Regions from separate parts of the Homo sapiens genome. Here regions 1, 2 and 3 are each linked to region 4. The links are contacts of gene promoters, found by promoter capture Hi-C in blood cells and fetal thymus (Javierre and others, 2016). All regions are on one chromosome and are shown on one strand. Each heading gives the region's core, a stretch centred on a gene start or on the middle of the fragment in contact. The rest is flanking DNA. Distances are from core to core; before and after follow the strand shown.

Region 1 (3,192 bases), core at 112-2,611, 440 kb after region 4:
AGTAAGGGACCACCATAGGGAGGTCAGAAGGTGCTTTTCAGAGGTGGAGACTACAGCTGTTCTCAGAAGAATAGGGGTTAGAAGAACTTTCCAGGCACAGAGCAAAGCATGAGCAAAAGCTCTGTGGAGGCCAGGAAGCTGGTAAATAGGGAATAAAAGAGGCCAGTTTGGCTGGAGCAGAGAGAGCAGAACAGAATTGGTCTGAGTAGTGAGAAGAGATGAAGAAGTGGGCAAGGCGCCTGGCCATTCGGGGCTTGGTTAGTTAGGAGGTTTTGTCTAAGAGAATGGGAAGGTGTTTAAGTGCTTTAGGCTGGGAAGTGACACGGTCACATTATATTTTGGAAAAGCCACTCTGCCTGTTGTGTTGAGATTAGAGAGGCGATAAAGGGGATATGGGTAAACCACAAGAAGACTAGGTCAGTAGTCCCTCGACCCTCACTCCCCAGGTGAAGGCAGCCTAGACTAGGGTGGTGACGGAGGAGATAGAAGAGGACAGATTCAAGGAAAATTTGGAAGGTAAAAACCAGTAGGATTTGCTGACGGATGGAGTATAGGAGGGGAGAGGTAGATTATCAGGGATGTATCTTAGTTTTCTTATACAAGATAGATTCAGTTGCAATGAAATTGTTAACTGAAATTGACTTTAAATAATGGCATGACCTAAAGTTATGCAAACATTTGCCTTAGATAAAATATCAAGTTTTCAAAGTTTTTAGCTGGGTGGACGGCATGGCTTTACTTCCTATTTCTTGGTATTCTAATCCTGTTGAAAAAAAAAGTTTTTCTTTTTCTCAAAGGCTTATTTCAGTGGAAGCCCATCTGCAAAATCTGTTAATAAATTTAAATTAGAAAATAACTACAAGTGCCATTGACACATTGGTTATTCTTTTTGAGAGTGACCTAAGGCCACCTCTGGGAGAGCTGGGGGCTCTTCTGAAGCCTGCCCGACTGCACCGCGTGCCCGTGCCTGGAAGTCAGATTCGGGGCGGTGCGGCAGCGCGAGGCCTGCAGTCCTAAGCGCGGGGTCGCTCCAGCCCCAGAGGGGGTGTGTCTCCTGCCTCTTCAACCTGGCAGGGGCTGTTCAAGTGGCCGGGGAAACCAGCGATTTGGAGGGTCGAGGGCTGGTGCTTTGAAAGACAGGCGGAGGGGAGAGAGGGATTTCCCCGTCCCCGCTGCACTCGGTCCTTCCCCTGGGTTACTCCTTTCCTCCGCCTGCGCGGCCCCTAACCTGCTCGAACCCGTTGTGCAGAAGAGGCCGCCGGGTCCCTTTAAGGCCCCGCCGCGCCTGCGCCTTGGGTTATCCTGACACGCCCATCGGGATCCTGAGGAGCCAGTGGGCTGCAGGCGCAGGCGCAGGCGAGGGGCTGGGTGGCGGTTGAGACAGCGGCGGTACTGGGAGGCGTAGGTGAGGGTCGCGAGGCTGCCCGAGCTTCTGAGCGAGCGCGGTGCTTTTGGGAACGCGGGACGGGCGATCTGCGGCGCCAGGAGCTGGGCCGAGGCGCGGCGGCGCGGCTGCCGGCTGCCCTGTGAATGGGAAGTTACGCGAAGTCCACCCAGCGTTTCTGAGGTGAGGGCGCCGCGCCAGGCTGGGCGGGCGGTGAATCCGGGACCCGCGGGCGCACAGCTGGGTCGAGGCGCGGCCGTGGCAAGTTTTGTTGCGCGAGCGCGGGGGCGGGTGGGGGCTGTGGGGGGTCGTGCACCGCCGGGGCCTGAGTTCCCCGCGCTGGATTCTTCGCCTGCCGCTGCCGCCCGCAGCCCAACTCTCGTGGGCGCTGGGGAAGAAACTCGCTGGCGGGTGTTCTGTGGCATCCCAGGGGGTGGAGGGACGGAGCAGCTTCGGGGGCACGTCCTCCTATATCCTGTAGAGGACACTGACCCCGCACCCCACCCTCCAGGCCAGAAATCCGTTCCCTCTGCGGACCTGAGAGGCGAGCGCGCTCGCGCCCCTGACTTGCAAAGTTGGGGTCTTTACTGGCCTCCGGGCTTCTGCTCCTGGCGGTGTCTCCAGGCTGGTGATGGGCAAGCCAGGTGTGCCAGCTCCAGGATGCACATGAGCAGCATTTGTAGCCATCACTGAATCACCTCCTGACTAGCGGGGCAAGCCTCAAATGAACCGCAGGATTTCGGGTAGATTGGATTGTGGGGTTGCTGTTTGCACTCCAAAGAGTTGCTGTGATTTCCCTGCGTCTGGCTGGCTGGCTGGCTTCTTAGATCATCTCATGTGGCGTCCTTTCAGCGGAGAGTTAACCAAGACGTTTGGCCTGGCTTCCTTGTTTTCCTCCTATCTTTTGCTTAGAGCTGCTTTCGAAAAGAAGTCTTTTCTGGCAGTGGTATCTTTTCTTTGGGTTACAGTGTTGTTCATCCTTTCTTTGCCAAAAGAATGAATCCCAGTGCTTCAGGAAGTTAAAGAAAAGATCTGCTGGTAGTGTTCTGAGCTGATATGCGTTAGTAGCTTTTTGTTTTTAAATTCTATTGGTAAAATTTCACTAGTGAACCAGAAGCTACTTTTTCTATTCTGAAATGCTAGCTTTAAGATTTCTGAGAACTTTGCGTCAAAGAAATCTTGGAAAAGTTACTGAAGTATACAGAAGTTCACAATTTTACATGTGCAGGTGGCCCGGGCGCAGTGATCACACCTGTAATCCCAGCACTTTGGGACGCCAAGGTGGGTAGATCACTTGAGCCCAGGATTTCCAGACCAGCCTGGGCAATGTGGCAAAACCCTTTCTCTACTAAAAATACAGAAGTTAGCTGTGTGTGGTGGCGTGTGCCTGTAGTCCCAGCTACCCGGTAGGCTGAGTTGGGAGGATCACCAGAGCCCGGGAGGTTGAGATTGCAGTGAGCCGTGATCATGGCAGTGCACTCCGACCTGGATGGCAGAGTGAGACCCTGTCTCAAAAAAAAAAAAAAAAAAGTAATGAATTTTTACCAAGTGAACCACCACAGATCAAGAAATTGAACATTACTAGTCTGGGGTATATTTGTAGGGGTGGCATTGTTGGTTTTAGAGGTATATGAATGATAAAACTTTAGTATTACATATTGTTGAACATTTTCCCAAAGTAGTTGTACCATTTAGCAGGGATATGCTGGTTACCCCACATCTTCGCTGATACCTGTCAGTTAAAAATTATTTTGCCATTCTAGTAGGGGTGCAGTAATATATCAGTGTGGTTTCATTGAGATTGAGTA
Region 2 (3,125 bases), core at 572-3,071, 300 kb before region 4:
GGCCAGGCTGGTCTCAAACTCTTGACCTCAGGTGATCCACCCGCCTCAGCCTCCCAAAGTGCTAGGATTACAGGTGTGAGCCACCACACTTGGCCTAGTTTAATATTTTCTTGTTTTTTTTTTTTTTTTTGAGACTGAGTCTTGCTCTGTCACCCAGGCTAGAGTGCAGTGGCACATTCTTGGCTCACTGCAACCTCCACCTCCCGGGTTCGAGTGATTCTCCTGCCTCAGCCTCCCAAGTAGCTGGGATTACAGGCACCCGCCACCACGCCCGGCTAATTTTTGTATTTTTAGTAGAGACGGGGTTTCACCATCTTGGCCTAGCTGGCCTTGAACTCCTGAACTCGTGATCCACCCGCCTCGTCCTCCCAAAGTGCTAGGATTACAGGCATGAACCATCGCGCCCAGCCTAGTTTAGTGTATTTTAATAGCACACTTACAGGAACAGCACAGAAAACAGACAACATTAAAAATATCTACTTGCATGCAGGACAGACAGCTCAGAAAAGTATAGTGAATGGATGGAATCTACTGTGTGATAAAAATGCTACAAGTACCATTTAGTTGCTGTCAATAAGAAATGTCCTTGTTTTAAGCCAGGCGTGGTGGCTCATGCCTGTAACCCCAGCACTTTGGGAGGCCGAGGTGGGTGGATCACCAGGTCAGGAGTTCGAGACCAGCCTGGCCAGCATGGCAAAACCCCATCTCTACTAAAAATACAAAACATTAGCCAGGTGTGGTGGTGCACACCTGTAATCCCAGCTACTCGGAAGGCTGGGGCAGGAGAATCACTTGAACCCGGGATGCAGAGGCTGCAGAGAGTCGAGATCGCGCCATTGCACTCCAGCCTGGGCAATAGAGGAAAACTTCGTTTCAAAAGAAAAGAATGTCCAGAAAAATTTAACAGGTTTACTTATAATTATTATAAAGTTGAACCATGAAACTTGTTCACTGGAACATTTTGCCTTGCATTAACGCTAAATTATCTTATCTCCAAAGAGATCCCATCGAGAGAGGAAGAAACAGGTCAGCCCTCTCCTGATGCCACACAACATACTCAGATCTGAGGTGGAGCTCTCAGCCACAGAGGCATCTCAGCCCGGGGCCTGGCCCATGTCTGTGAGCTCTGCTGAGAGAGTAATATTTCATCTGTGCTCCAGCTATACCGAACCTCCCCGAGGTCCTCACACACATCGTGCTTTCTCCTGCCTCTGAGCCGCCCCACCCCCGTCCCTCTGCCTGTGGTATCTCTCTTCCTCTCATTTCCCTGCCCCGTTTGCCCAGCCAACCCCTACTTGCATGCTACTGCTTGGCCTCTGCCTCCTCCAAGAAGCCTTCCCTGAGCTCCATCCACTCAGACACCCCTCAAAGCCCCTGTGTTGGAGCTGTTCTTTTGACTCACTTCCCCCTGGCCTGTGAGCCCACAGGGCAGCAAGCTGTTCTGCCCTGTTCATGCAGTCTCCCTAGCACTTGGCACAGTGCCTGGCGCACAGTAGGTGCTCAGATGCTACCCTATTGCCTGGATGATTCCCTCCAGGCAACAGCGGACTATGGGAAGCAGGAAGGTGCACAGACAGGAGAACAAGGCAGGGCCGACTTACTCTTGATCCCTTCGAACAGCAGGGCCTCCCCGTGGCCCTCATTCTGCTGCTCCTGGAACAGTTTGTAGCAGGACCTGGGGCTGGCCAGGAGCAGCCGGAAGCCCTGGAGGCAGAAACACTGGGGTTAGAAGTCAGCTTTGCCCCTGGAGCTCCCAACGAGGGTGGATCTGCTGAGGGTGGGAGTAGTGTGGACTTGGACCCAAGCTGGCCACCTCCTCTACTGCCATCCTAAGGGTGAAGGAGAAATAGACAAGTAAAGTTGCTCCCACCCCAGGCAGAGGGTCTACCCAGGAAGGAGGCATGGCTTCCTGAGGCAGCCCCCAAGACTGTACCTTCCTGTCGGGTGCTGGCACAAAGCTCAGGAACTCGTCCACGTGGCCCACGGACAGCCAGTCAGAATAGAGCTTCACAGGGGCCTGCACCTGCTGGGCACTGAGGAAGTCCTGCAGGGCCTGGTGCATCTGCCGGCTGTCATTGCTGTCATGGCAGGGTTAAAGGGGTGTTATCGGCAGCAAGGGCTACAGGGAAGTCCCTGAAGGACAAGGGGCTTGGCAAAAAGGTCAGGGTTCTCCTTCAGCTGAGAAAGGGATGCAGGAGTCTAGAATGCCTTTATTTTATCCCCTAACATTTGAGAAATCAAGGAATTGTCATTCTAGTTTTATTGGGGGAAACTGAGGCACAGAGTCACTAAGGTAAGTAGAACAGAGCTTAGCCTCAGAAAGCACTGCCTCTTGAGTTAGATGAGATGCTGGTATTCTGGGTACACATGGGGCTTAGAGCCAGTCTGACCTAAGTCGGTGATCTCTTGTTAGCCATGTGGCCTTGGGGACATTCCTTCACCTGTTTGAGCCTCAGTTTTCTCCTAAAAAAAAAAATTAGTGTTGCAGTGCCTTGTTCTTCCTCACTTTTTTTTTTTTTTTTGAGACAGAGTCTTGCTCTGTTGCCCAGGCTGGCACAATCTCGGCTCACTACAACCTCCGCCTCCCGGGATCAAGCGATTCTCTTGCCTCGGCCTCCCGAGTAGCTGGGATTACAGGCATGCATCACCAGGCCCAGCTAATTTTTGCATTAGTAGAGACGGGGTTTCGCCATGTTAGTCAGGCTGGTCTCGAACTCCTGACCTCAGGTAATCCACCTGCCTTGGCCTCCCAAAGTGCTGGGATTACAGGTGTGAGCCACTGTGCCCAGCCTCTTCTTGTTCAATAGGTTCTAGCCATCCTGGCCTTGCACGCAGGAGCTCATTCCTGCCTCAGGGCCTTTGCACATGCACTTTCATTTGCCAGGAACTCTCTGTCCCAGATCTCCAGGTGGCCCTGTCCCTTCTGTCATTAGGCCTCAGTTCAAAAGCCCCTTCCCCAGAGAGGACCTCCCTGGTCACCCTAACAGTTCCTATTCCTCCCGTGCCCCTCTCTTTTGTTTTTGTCATTTGAAGTTATCTTGTCTACTTTTCTATCATCTGTTTCCCTACTAGAGTAGTGGTAAGGACTTGTCTTTCTTGTCCACGGCTGCATTCCCAGCTCCCAG
Region 3 (3,181 bases), core at 438-2,937, 330 kb before region 4:
AGCTGGAACTGCAGGCACCTACCACCACACGCCTGGCTAATTTTTTGTATTTTTAGTAGAGACGGGATTTCACCGTCTCGTTAGACAGGATGGTCTTGATCTCCTGACCTCGTGATCTGCCTACCTCGGACCTCCCAAAGTGCTGGGATTACAGGTGTGAGCTACCACGCCTGGCCCCCCCCCCTCCTTTTCTTTTTTGAGGTGGAGTCCTGCTCTGTTGAGCAGGCTAGAGTGTAGCGGCACTATCTCGGCTCACTTCAACCTCCATCTCCTGGGTTCAAGCAATTCTTGTACCTCAGCTTCCTGAGTAGCTAGGACTATAGGTGTGCACCACCATGCCCGGCTAGTTTTTTGTATTTTTAGTAGAGATGGGGTTTTACCACATTGCCCAGGCCAGTCTCCAACTCCTGAGCTCAGGCAATCCATCTGCCTCAGCCTCCCAAAGTGCTAGGATTACAGTCGTGAGCCACTGTGCCCAGCCCAAGTCCATTCATTTTCTAGGTCAGAAATGACCCTGACTTCTCCCACCTGGGTCACTCGAACTTCCTCTTTCCTGGCCTGTCCTCTATCTGTGCCCGATGTGGCAGCTGTAGGCCTGATGGCTGTTCCTGCTCAAGATTCCAGGTGACTTATTTCAGGGGATCCTAAGCTAGATTTACCTTGGCCACTAGAACCCCAAGAGATCCAGGAACTGTAGCATCCTCAGACCTTCTGCACGGCACTGCCAGCTGCCTCCATCTCCAGCTCCTCCAACGTGCCAGCAGATGGCTGCAGCTGCGGCCGTGGCTGCCCCTGGTTAGGCACTGCCCTGGGTCCTCGGCCTCTTGCTCTGGGTTAGAGCCCCAGCAGCCCTCCCGATGGACTCTGCAGTTCTGCAGCAGCCCCTCCTTGGAGGCCCTGGGGATGCTGGTTACAGGCCCAGCCTCAGTCCTGCTGCTGGCTGTGAGGGAACTGGGCCCACCGGGACCACTCCTGTGCTAGTTCCTGCTTCTCATCTACCTAGATGCTTCACCAGCCCTGAGCCAGGCCTCATGGGGCAAGACCAGACAAGGCAGTCTTCCCCCAGGAACCCCTGCAACTTCCCAGTGCAGACACAGCCCTCTTGACCTGCGATAGCATCAGCAGGCCCACGGCATGCAGCCCAAGAGGTGCCACACACCTAGGGCCTGCTCCTGTTCTGGGGACCTGGGCTCCCTGTGGCCATTCCACCCAAGGGTGATTCACCACCAGGCAGTGAGGGCGAGAGGGTCACAGTCTGTTTGCCACAATCCCCTACTGGCTGGCTCTCCTGTGGTTGACCTTCTGGGGGCCCCTCTCACAGATAGTTTGTTGTGAAGCATAGCTAACATTTCACTGTGGGCTATCTTTGCTAGGAGCTGTGGTAGGTGTTTCAGGCTCATGGGCTCACATCCTCAGGACCCTTTGAAGCAGGCATTTGTTGTCCCCATTAAACAGAAGCATGGGGGAGGCCAGAAGCCCTGCGACCCAAGTACACACAATAGCTGCCTCTACCTGGAAGGCCCTCCCTGCCCTCAGTCCTCACAGAGCTGCCCAGGAGGCCTTAGCTACCTCAAACTCTCCCTACCCACCCTGGGGGCATATTAAAGGGCTCCCTCCAGCCTCTGCTGGGTCCTCGACTGTCTGTCCATCTGTCGTAGCAGGCTCTGAGAGCAGGTAACATGGTTTATTCTTCCAGAGCTGGATCCTCAGGGCACAGAGCAAATACTGATGATTTGAGCTGAGCTTTTTCCTACCTGCCATGTACTGCTGGACTTACAGGAAGGTGGGTACCCTTCTTGGTTCTTCACTGGCACTTCTCGGCCATTTCTCTATTCCTCAAGAATCCCAGTTCCTGTGAAGTGCTGGCCATCAGATAATGCCAGCTACCCCTTTCTTTTGGGGACGACGATGTCATCCTCTCCATCCTTCGTGGATTGTTCTAGCATACTTGCCCTCCACTGCTGTTGTGTCACTGGTATCTGACAATAGACTAGAACATCTAGACATTTTGATCTCTCTTCGACGACCTTATTTCAATGAACCTGGGTTCTATACCACCTTAGACATCCATTACAATGATCATAACCCAGACTAGATGCCACCTCCAAGGCAGACAATGCCTTCCGATCTGTTTCGCTCACCTATGCTCCCACCCCAGCGAGTCCCCAACCTCAGTCCCAGATCCTCCTACCGATCCCCACCCTCCATCCTCACACTTCCCTTTGACCCTTCTCAGAGCCCAAAAACCCATCACTACATCCTCTCTTATACACACTGTCCACTCCCACACCTTTTTCTAGTTTGCTTTCCTGGAAAACCTCCATTCTGGTCACACCAGGTCTTTAAAGCTCACTCTTGCACCTGAGATGCTGGAGAAAACCATCACACCAAAAGGCCTCATTTCAGGCTACGACCAGACCTCAGAGCAAGCCACCAACACTACTCAAACACTATCGTCTCATTCCTGTCCACAGACTCACCTGTATTCCATAGTCCTAAAGGTGATCCTCCTGCCTTGGCCTCCCAAAGTGCTGGGATTACAGGTGTGAGCCACCACGCCCAGCCTGTTTAGAACCTTGTCTTCTGGCTTTCTATTCCTCTGCAAACTTCTCAGATCTTCCTCTAGGATCCATTTCCCCACCCCTGTTGGATCAGTTCCATCTATACATCTGCCCGTGTACTACCAGCTTCAGACACGCTCGACTGCGTGCTGGCCCCTGTAATTACCACCACACATCTCCCTTTACGGAGAGAGAATTCTTTCTGTGGCCTAGATTTACTGTGCCTCCCCATTTCAACCTGGCTTTTCACTGTTATTATCAGGGTCACTGATGACTGCCATTCTGAGGATTGTGACTTTACTATGGGCTTGGGCATCTTAGTCTATCCCACAGCATTTGCCAGGGTTGGCCACTGCCTTACTTTGCCCAGACTGGAGTGCAGTGGTGCAATGTCGGCTCACTGCAGCCTCTGCCTCCCGGGTTCACATGATCCTCCCGCCTCAGTCTCCTGAGTAGCTAGGATTACAAGCTAAAGCCACCACACCTAGCTAATTTTGGTATTTTTAGCAGATGGTTTTAACCATGTTGGCCAGGCTGGTCTCAAACTCCTGACCTCAAAAGTGATCCACCAGTCTTGGTCTACTCAAAGTGCTGGGATTAAGGCATGAACCACCACGCCT
Region 4 (2,929 bases), core at 363-2,862:
ACCCTCTCGTACAGAACAGAGCTCACAGTGTCTAGCTGTCTGCTCACTTGCCGTCTCCACCACTAGAGAGTAAATTCAATGAGCAGTGACCACCTGGCTTGCTCATTCCCTGCAGCATCCCAGCACTTGGTGCCTGCCACATAGTAGCCACTCCATTCGTATTTATGAATGAATGAATGAACGAACAAAAGAATGGCACCTTTGCCAGCCACCCTTGAAATCACCTCAGCTCATTCACCAACTGCCCAGTTTGTTTGGGACTCTCAGTGCAGAAACCTGGGCAGCCTCGGGCAAGCTGCACGGTATGCGACAGAAAGGGCTGACTCAAGCCAGTAAGCGTCAGAGATGAATAATAAGACTGACAAATTCTTAGGGAGGCTAGGTGTGGTGGCTCACGCCTGTAATCCCAGCACTTTGGGAAGTTGGAGCAGGATGATTGCTTGAGCCCAGCCTGGGCAACATAGCCAGACTCCATCTCTACAAATAATTTTTTAAAAAAATTATCCGGGTGGCCGGGCGCGGTGGCTCATGCCTGTAATTCCAGTACTTTGGGAGGCCGAGGTGGGTGGCTCACGAGGTCAGGAGTTCAAGACCAGCCTGGCCAAGATGGTGAAACCCCATCTCTACTAAAAACACAAAAAAATTAGCCGGGCATGATGGCGGACGCCTATAATCCCAGCTACTCGGGAGGCTGAGGCAGGGAATTGCTTGAACCCGGGAGGCGGAGGTTGCAGTCAGCCGAGATCGCGCCACTGCACTCCAGCCTGGGAGACAGAGCGATACTCCATCTCAAAAAAAAGAAAAAAAAAAAAACTACCCGGGTATGGTGGCTCACACGCCTGTAGTCCCAGCTACTCTGGAGGTGGGAGGATCGCTTGAGCCTGGGAAGTCGAGGCTGCAGTGAGCCAAGACTGCACACCGGCCTGGGCAACAGAGTGAGACCCTGTCTGAAAAAAAAAAAAAAAATTGGCCGGGCGCAGTGGCTCATGCCTGTAATTCCAGCACTTTGGGAGGCCAAGGTGGGCGGATCACGAGGTCAGGAGTTCAAGACCAGTCTGGCCAAGATGATGAAACCCCGTCTCTACTAAAAATACAAAAAATTAGCCGGGTGTGATGGTGTGCGCCTGTAATCCCAGCTACTCGGGAGGCTGAGGCAGGAGAATCGCGTGAACCCGGGAGGCGGAGGTTGCAGTGAGCCAAGATCGCGCCATTGCACTCCAGCCCGGGAAACAGTGCGAGACTCCATCTCAAACAAACAAACAAAAATTCCAGGAATAAAGAGGTTGAAATCGGGGCAGGGACCCGGATAGGATGGCTCCGCCCCATCTAAGTCTTAGCCCCACCCCCTGAAAGTCGCCCTGCCTCTCAGACTCCTCCCCTTTCTGAGAAGGTCACGGGGGAAGCCAAATGGGCATGCGCCGCTACTGCGCTATTGCGCACGCTCGCTGTGCTTGCCCCGCCTTCCCTCCGCCCACCCGGGAAACCGGAAGCCGCCTCCCACTTGGTTGCTCGTACGCGGCTAGTGGGTCCTCAGTGGATGTAGGCTGGGCGCCGCGATGTTCGACGGGACACCGGCGGAGAGCGACCTCGGGGTTAAGGGGTGGGGCTGACGTCAGGAGCCAAGATGGCGGCGGTGGTCGCCCTCTCCTTGAGGCGCCGGTTGCCGGCCACAACCCTTGGCGGAGCCTGCCTGCAGGTGAGTCCTGGAGCCTCAGAGAGGGAAAAGTCAGGAAAGCCACAGAGACTGCCTGGAGCTGATGGGGCTGCGGAGAGACTGAGGAAGCATAGGGCAAGGCCTCAGGGAGATGGAGGACCTCCTCCCCCTGGTGCAGTGCTTTGGTTTGGCTTCGAGCATCCCTGTCAAGTTATCTTTCTGCGCCTCGCAGCAGCTTGTGAGTTAGGGCACGGGCAATTTTTTACAGCTAAGGGTGCGGGGGGGGGGGACGTTCAGAAAGGGGACTTGAATTGCTCAAGGTCACATGGCAAGCGAATGACTGCTGGAACCAGAATTTGAATCCAGACATTGGAGTTCCAAGCCCTTTTTCTGCCACCAAACTATCGCCTCTGTAGAAAAGGGAGACCTGCGGGGTGTGAAGGATGGGAATTGGGAAGCGAGGTAATTCCTCAAGGGTGCGAGGTTGAGGACCGGGATGGGTGAGGAAAGGACATGTGAATTGTTGGGGACAGGGCAGGGGAAGGGAGAGATGGAGGGAAATGCACCCAGCCCCCTACCTCGAAGGATCCCGGAGGTGGGTGGTGGGGGTTGCAGGAAAGACTGGGTTCCTTAAAGCAGTGTCACCACAGTTTCACTAGTATCCTCTCAGTGTTTCTGACTCTAAAGGTCATATAATAATACGGACCTCATAGAGTTGACATGGAATGACAGGTAGAGGGCTTGGCGCTGTTCTTGTTTATTACTATGCCGTGTGCAGTAACAGATTTTCCCACGCCCCTTGTATGGCCAAGAAACAACACATTTCTGACCTGCCTTCTAAGTGGGAACATTTAGAAGGGGAAGGGAAATTGCTTTTGTATACATAAGGGACTAAGGATTTGCAAATCCTTTCTAAGTCTGTTCCTCTTCTGGGATTCTCAACAACCCCTTTAAGGTGGGCAAGCAAGAATCCTTACCCTCCTTTTTGGAGCTTTGAAAACTTGAGGCCCCCAGAAAGAAAATTTTTGGCTTGCTCAAAATATCACATTCCCAAGAAGCAGACCTGAGGCAGTTTTTTAACATGGTACCAGAAAAACTCCTTAGCATAGATCTTGGGACATGGTTGGTGTCCAAGAAATTTTAGTTCCTCTTCCTCTCTTGCACTTAAATGAGGACATCTTTCATCTTAAGTGCCTGCTATGGCTGCATAACACAGTACATATTGCCCATGTTCCAATCCTGGTTCTATCCAGCATGCTGTGTGTGAACTTGGAT

Evidence for each region. The method cuts DNA at HindIII sites, captures the fragments that hold promoters and counts their contacts. A CHiCAGO score of 5 or more calls a contact.
Region 1: a fragment that was not itself captured here is called in contact with the fragment with the promoter of SDHB in region 4 in 3 of 17 cell types (total CD4 T cells, naive CD8 T cells and erythroblasts); the score reaches 6.3 in total CD4 T cells.
Region 2: a fragment that was not itself captured here is called in contact with the fragment with the promoter of SDHB in region 4 in 2 of 17 cell types (neutrophils and monocytes); the score reaches 13.5 in neutrophils.
Region 3: a fragment that was not itself captured here is called in contact with the fragment with the promoter of SDHB in region 4 in 4 of 17 cell types (neutrophils, endothelial precursors, megakaryocytes and 1 more); the score reaches 8.5 in neutrophils.

Annotation. Positions count from the first base shown.
Region 1 is chr1:16,611,713-16,614,904 of GRCh38, reverse strand. It overlaps NBPF1 (NBPF member 1), which reads left to right and starts at 1,341. Exons shown (of 18, transcript NM_001405701.2): 1 at 1,341-1,567. RefSeq lists an enhancer at 540-1,497. The HindIII fragment of the contact is 6,693 bases long and covers 1-3,192 here.
Region 2 is chr1:17,354,936-17,358,060 of GRCh38, reverse strand. It overlaps PADI4 (peptidyl arginine deiminase 4), which reads right to left. Exons shown (of 16, transcript NM_012387.3): 12 at 1,934-2,078; 13 at 1,602-1,704. Among named protein-coding and RNA genes, the nearest start is that of PADI6, 16 kb to the left of the region's middle. The HindIII fragment of the contact is 6,300 bases long and covers 1-3,125 here.
Region 3 is chr1:17,384,462-17,387,642 of GRCh38, reverse strand. All of the region lies in intron 6 of PADI6 (peptidyl arginine deiminase 6), which reads right to left. Among named protein-coding and RNA genes, the nearest start is that of PADI6, 14 kb to the right of the region's middle. The HindIII fragment of the contact is 3,457 bases long and covers 1-3,181 here.
Region 4 is chr1:17,052,715-17,055,643 of GRCh38, reverse strand. It overlaps SDHB (succinate dehydrogenase complex iron sulfur subunit B), which reads left to right and starts at 1,612. Exons shown (of 8, transcript NM_003000.3): 1 at 1,612-1,696. The coding sequence starts at 1,625. RefSeq lists enhancers at 1,073-1,122, 1,673-1,732. The HindIII fragment of the contact is 17,146 bases long and covers 1-2,929 here.